Linked DNA regions of Homo sapiens: region 2 is linked to region 1. Evidence: promoter capture Hi-C in human tissues and cell types (Jung and others, 2019). All regions are on one chromosome and are shown on one strand. The core of a region is centred on a gene start or on the middle of the fragment in contact, and the rest is flanking DNA. Distances in the headings are between cores, read along the strand shown. Region 1 holds the start of CLDN11 (claudin 11). Region 2 overlaps SLC7A14 (solute carrier family 7 member 14).

The links. Contacts are between HindIII fragments. The study calls those that stand out against the background at their distance.
Region 2: a fragment that was not itself captured here is called in contact with the fragment with the promoter of CLDN11 in region 1 in 1 of the 25 tissues and cell types used here (hippocampus).

What each region holds. Positions count from the first base shown.
Region 1 is chr3:170,417,423-170,420,122 of GRCh38, reverse strand. CLDN11 (claudin 11) reads right to left here and starts at 1,255. Exons shown (of 3, transcript NM_005602.6): 1 at 831-1,255. The coding sequence starts at 1,056. RefSeq lists an enhancer at 555-1,507. The HindIII fragment of the contact is 16,199 bases long and covers 1-2,700 here.
Region 2 is chr3:170,460,299-170,462,998 of GRCh38, reverse strand. SLC7A14 (solute carrier family 7 member 14) reads left to right here. Exons shown (of 8, transcript NM_020949.3): 8 at 1-2,700. Among named protein-coding and RNA genes, the nearest start is that of SLC7A14-AS1, 5.6 kb to the left of the region's middle. The HindIII fragment of the contact is 5,273 bases long and covers 1-2,700 here.

The DNA of each region.
Region 1 (2,700 bases), core at 6-2,505:
ACCTCCCCTTCCCAATCTGAGACACGCTGGAGGGGTGGCGGCGAGCGACCCTCGGCGGCGCGCTCCGTATCTCCCCAGTGGAGTCCGCCCTCCGAGGAGCGCCCGCTCGTCCCTATCCAACCCAGCGGCGCGGAGCGGGAGCCGGCGTCACCGCAGCCCCGCAGTCTGACGCGCCCACAGCAGGGGCGGGGGTAGCGGGGGCAGCGGAGATGGCCCTGGGCACGTGCGGGAATCAACGTGACATTTCCCAAACCAGGCAGCCCAGAGAGCCCTGGACGTGAATTGCTCAGCGGCTGCGCGGACGGAGCTAGGAGGGCTCTAACCTGGCCGGGGGCGCTTCGCCCATCCCATGAGGACCGAGAAACTCAGCCTGAGCCGGTTCGATTCTCCTGTCAGCTTGTGTTACACGCTCCTTCTCACCTCTGCGGGCGGAACCTAACGCGAAGGCTCGGCGCCCCGGGGGAGGCCGGGCGGGAGCGGGAAGCACTTCGGGAAGCGGACGGTGGAAGGATGCGGGCTGGGACCGCAGTAATTAACACGGACTCAGTTCCTATTAGGTGTTCCGGTTTGTTCATTCTCAAAGGGACCCGGCCAGTGTTACCACCGGCCACATTGCCACTATTATCTCAAATTCCAGATAAGAATACTGCGGCCTAGAGAAGTTAAGTTCGGGGCTGCCTAATTCTTTTACAACAAGGTGGGACTAGGGATGTCAAAAACGTACCCAAAGGTCTTCAAGCCCCCAAAATGTCTCTGTGACGCCGTCTAATATCCCGCTCTCTACCCAGAGGATAAGGATTTGGGAGCCGCCGCCAAGCTCGGGTCCTTACCCGGCAGGATGAGGATGTCCACCAGGGGCTTGCAGTGGTACAGCCCCGTGGCCATGACGCAGTCGGCCCACAGCCCCTTGGAGCCCAGCTCATCCAGCTTGCGGCAGGTGGGGATGGTGTAGCCGCAGGTCACCACCCAGTCATTGGTGGAGGTGGTCACGATGACCCCGATCCAGCCCACGAAGCTCGTGACGAAGCCCACCACCTGCAGGCACGTGGCCACCATGGTGGCCGCCAGGATGTCCCCGTGCCTCGCCCCTCACGGCTGTGCCTGGGCCTGGGCTGGACAGTGCCTGCCCAGGTACGTCTCCCACGCTCGCGAGCCGCTGGAGGGCGACGGCCCGAGGCGGGACACTGGAGGTGGAGGTGGGCGCCGGAGGCTGCGAGCTCAGCGGCGAAGGGCGCACGGCGGGGACAGCAGCGCTGCTGGGCAGCGCGCCCCCGCCCCCTCTTTAAGCCCCGCGGCTCCGGCCGGCGAGCACCAATCGGCGGCAGCCCCGGGGCGCGCCGGCCAATCGCGGGGCGGGGCCGGGAGGGAAGCGTGAAGGGGAGCAGAGTAACCCCAGGGGGGCCATTGGGCCGCCCCACCCCGTCCGCAGCGCAGTCCGGCGATGCAAAGTAAAACAATTCCATCCAGGTCCAGAGAAACGGAGAGCGCAAAGAGGGCGTGCGTTTGTCGAGAGTTCTGTTTTCCTGCGACTGGTTTCTCTTCTTATAGCCCCTCTCTCATCTCAGTCTCTGGGTGTCCATTCCGCTCCGACCCTCCTCAGCTCCTCCCTGCTCGCTCCTTCTTCCCTGCTGCGAGCACTCCAAGGGCGCTCGGTACAGTCCCCCGACGACCCAGGATTGTGACAGACTGAAAAGTGCAGTAGGGACAAACGCGAGGCATTCAGTACACACAGTTACTAGAAGAAAGAAAACGATGCTTTTCAGTGGTTGAACATCATCAGCGGCAAACGTGGCCATAATAATCAACAATAGCAACTCACATTTATCGAGCTGTGTTATATATTATGCAGATGCATTTTACATGCATTAGCTCATTTAATCCTCATAACAGCCTTTGAGGTAGGAACAATTGTCAATGACACATACTAGGCCGGGAGTGGTGGCTCACACCTGTAATCCCAGAACTTTGGGAGGCCAAGGTGGGCGGATCACCTAAGGTCAGGAGTTCGAGACCAGCCTGACCAACATGGTGAAACTCCATCTCTACAGAAAATACAAAAATGAGCCGGGCATGGTGGCGCATGCCTGTAACCCCAGCTGCTTGGGAGGCTGAGGCAGGAGAATAACTTGAAGGAGGTTGCAGTGCGCCAAGATCGTGCCACTGCACTCCAGCCTGGGCAACTGAGTGAGACAACGTCTCAAAAGCAAACAACAACAACAACAACAAATTACACGCACTAGCCATAGAGAAACAGCACAAGAAGGTTGAGTTGCCCAAGTTCACGCAGCTAGGAAGGGGTAGATACCATGGGCCCATCTCATCCCTTTCACGAACTGTTTCTAGGAAACTGTCCTGATCAGTCTGAAAATTCCTAAGGGGTTCATGTGTCCCATTTTAGACGCATTAAAAGCTACAGCAGACTTCTCTGGCTCACTGTAAATAAATTAATATCTGTACCCCACTGAGAAAACTGCCTAGCCCAGAATGAGCGCTCTGATAGTGTAAAGCTATCATCATCACCATCAACATCATTAAGCCACCATGCATACAAATAGGCCGCATTATTTGCACCTTTTTATTCAGATAGGGAAGTCTTCCTTGAGCTGCATTTACATTCAACAGTTTTCACTCCCTTTGAAACATTTGGCTTATCTTATTATCTCCTTCTATCCATTCCCTTGGACCACTGCCTCCTCACCA
Region 2 (2,700 bases), core at 132-2,631, 43 kb before region 1:
ACTAACAAGCCACATATACACTCCAAATTGATTTAACAAATTAAAGAGAAAAATAGCTGTACTTTGAGTCCTGTGTCTGCATTCATCATTAACCTAAGAAAATACAGCCATTTAATACGTGGACAAGCAACACAATTTAACAGCCACTTTAAAGTTTTCAACAATAGGTTTCAACAACTAAACCTAACAACTTTTTATATCTATCTAATCTAAACAGTAAAATCTCAGCTCCAGGTTTTACTGAGCTTGAGTGCTACTTTTTTTTTTTTAGACAGAGTCTCATTCTGTCACCCAGGCTGGAGTGCAGTGGCATGATCTTGGCTCACTGCAACCTTCACCTCCCGGGTTCAAGCTATTCTCCTGCCTCAGCCTCCCAAGCAGCTGGGATTATAGGCGTGTGCCAGTTCTACTTCTTAGTAACAAACTAGTAGCTAATCAAATGCCTACATAATGGTCATGATAAATCTGTTTAAATAAATGGCGGGCGGAAGGGAGTTGTTGAATTTAACAATCCATCCTTCTTCAGAATCTATAGGTCAGCCAGAATATAAATCTAGTAATTATTGAAAAACAAAACACAAACTCCTTCAAAGAAATCTCTCTCCTCTATTCTGCTGAAAAGGGTTGGTAAACCTGACATCCTTTCTTTTATTGGAAGACAAATCCAACATTTGTTAGACATCCAACATTTGTTGGAAGTCTACCTTACAAGAAACCACCTCTTATCTGCAACATAAACAGAAGCTACATCAGGTTGAAAATCCACATAGAAGACTGGAGAAAATTGCCGTCCCCTTTCGCACTAGGTTTTACCAGGGGCCCAAGATGTCAGAGGAAAGTCCGCGGAGGGCCAAACACAGGTTTACCTAATTATGAATCTCAGATTAGAATGTCTTATTGTGTGGAAAAGTCAGAACTCAGGAAATGTGTCTGAAGCCAGAGCGGGGGTCTGCTTACGGAGTCTACGCAGCGGGTAGGGGTCCACTATTGGAGTATAAACCTCAGGTCAGTGAGTAGTGCAGAGGTGTCCCTAACTTCCAATGGAGGGAAAGAGAGGAGAGCAAAGGAAACACATCCAGAAGTCGCCACGAGGGCTGTGTGCCAGCGCTCCATTTTCATGCTGTTTGGAACAAGACGTGTCAAGGAAGATGTTTCTATCCAAAGTCTTCATGGAGCCTCTGCTTCCCCTGTACCTGTGTAGCTCCCTGAAACTGAGGACCCACGTGTCTGCAAAGACCTCTGGAGATCCTAAGAGAGAGAGGCACCAGCAGGTAACCAGTGGTGGCCTGGCCACGAAAGAGTATTTGAAATTCAACAGTGAGCAAGTGCAGAAACAGCATCCCAAACCGCAGGCCCCACCACACGCAGGAACCAGAAAGCTGAAGTTTCACCAAGGAGTTTACTTAGTATTTCTCGCTGGGAATGGGGATGGGTAGCAAAAAGCCCCTTTCATGTACATAATGGTTGGTCCTATGTCCTACTTTTATTTTCTCTAAGAGTTTTAGAAGAAAGGCTGTTTTAATTTTTTTTTCTCCTTAAGAGCAACTTCCTTTTTAAAATGCTTTCCTCTTCTTGTCCTGCTTGAGTAATGCAGGCATCATTCTGAAATCATTCTGAAACAGCTAGGCAGTCGCCTTTTGCCAAAATTACTTCTCTAAGAAAATAGAGTGTTCTTTTTTTTAGGACTTAGAACCCACAAGGGGTGAGTGGAAGTTTTGTAGCCCATCAAAGGTGAATATGTGTTCTGCAGTATCAACTAAAACAGTGTACAAAATCATTAAACTGGGCCGGGCGCAGTGGCTCATGCCTGTAATCCCAGCACTTTGGGAGGCCGAGGCGGGTGGATCACCTGAGGCCAGGAGTTCAAGACCAGCCTGACCAACATGGAGAAACCCCATCTCTACTAAAAATACAAAATTAGCCAGGTGTGGTGTTGCATGCCTGTAATCCCAGCTATTAGGGAGGCTGAGGCAGGAGAATCGCTTGAACCCGGGAGGCAGAGGTTGCAGTGAGTCGAGATCACACCATTGCACTCCAGCCTGGGCAATAAGAGCAAAACTCCGTCTCAAAAATAATAATAATAATAATTTAACTGTGTTCTGCACACACAGAATTACAAAATCCCTATAGGACTTTCACAGATAGCTTTGGGCTTAAGGTCTTCGGACAACAGGTAGTTCTAATTTCTTACTCTTTGGGACATTTAGTACATGTTGGTACACATAAGGAAAGAAAATGGCTTATATTAGAGCTAGGAAACAGGGGCAGCCTGGATTTTTATGGTAGGAACTCACTCTGTGCTTTTTTTTTTTTCTGTTAAGTTTTCTTGACACTGACTTCGGTAACATTGGCTAAAGGGAATTGTGAGTCATGTGAATTTCACCTGCAGTGCAGACTTTAAAGGACTGTGTTCATTCTGATTTGGGGATGAAGAGAATGTTCCATGCACATCTATTGATTGGTCTTGGCAGTTGCTGATACGCTTGTCTCATTCACACTCCCAAAGGCGAGGATTTACCCTAGAAATCATAAACCCCCACTTTCCAAAGCAAAGATGCTGTTAATGTTATGATGGTGCATAAATACCTCAACTGTCTGGGCTGAGAGAGGGGGCTGCAGGTTTTTAAGAGAGCAGCTATAGTCCTCATTCCATGTAGTCACATCATCTGATGACAGGACTCCACATTCTAGCTTTTCTCA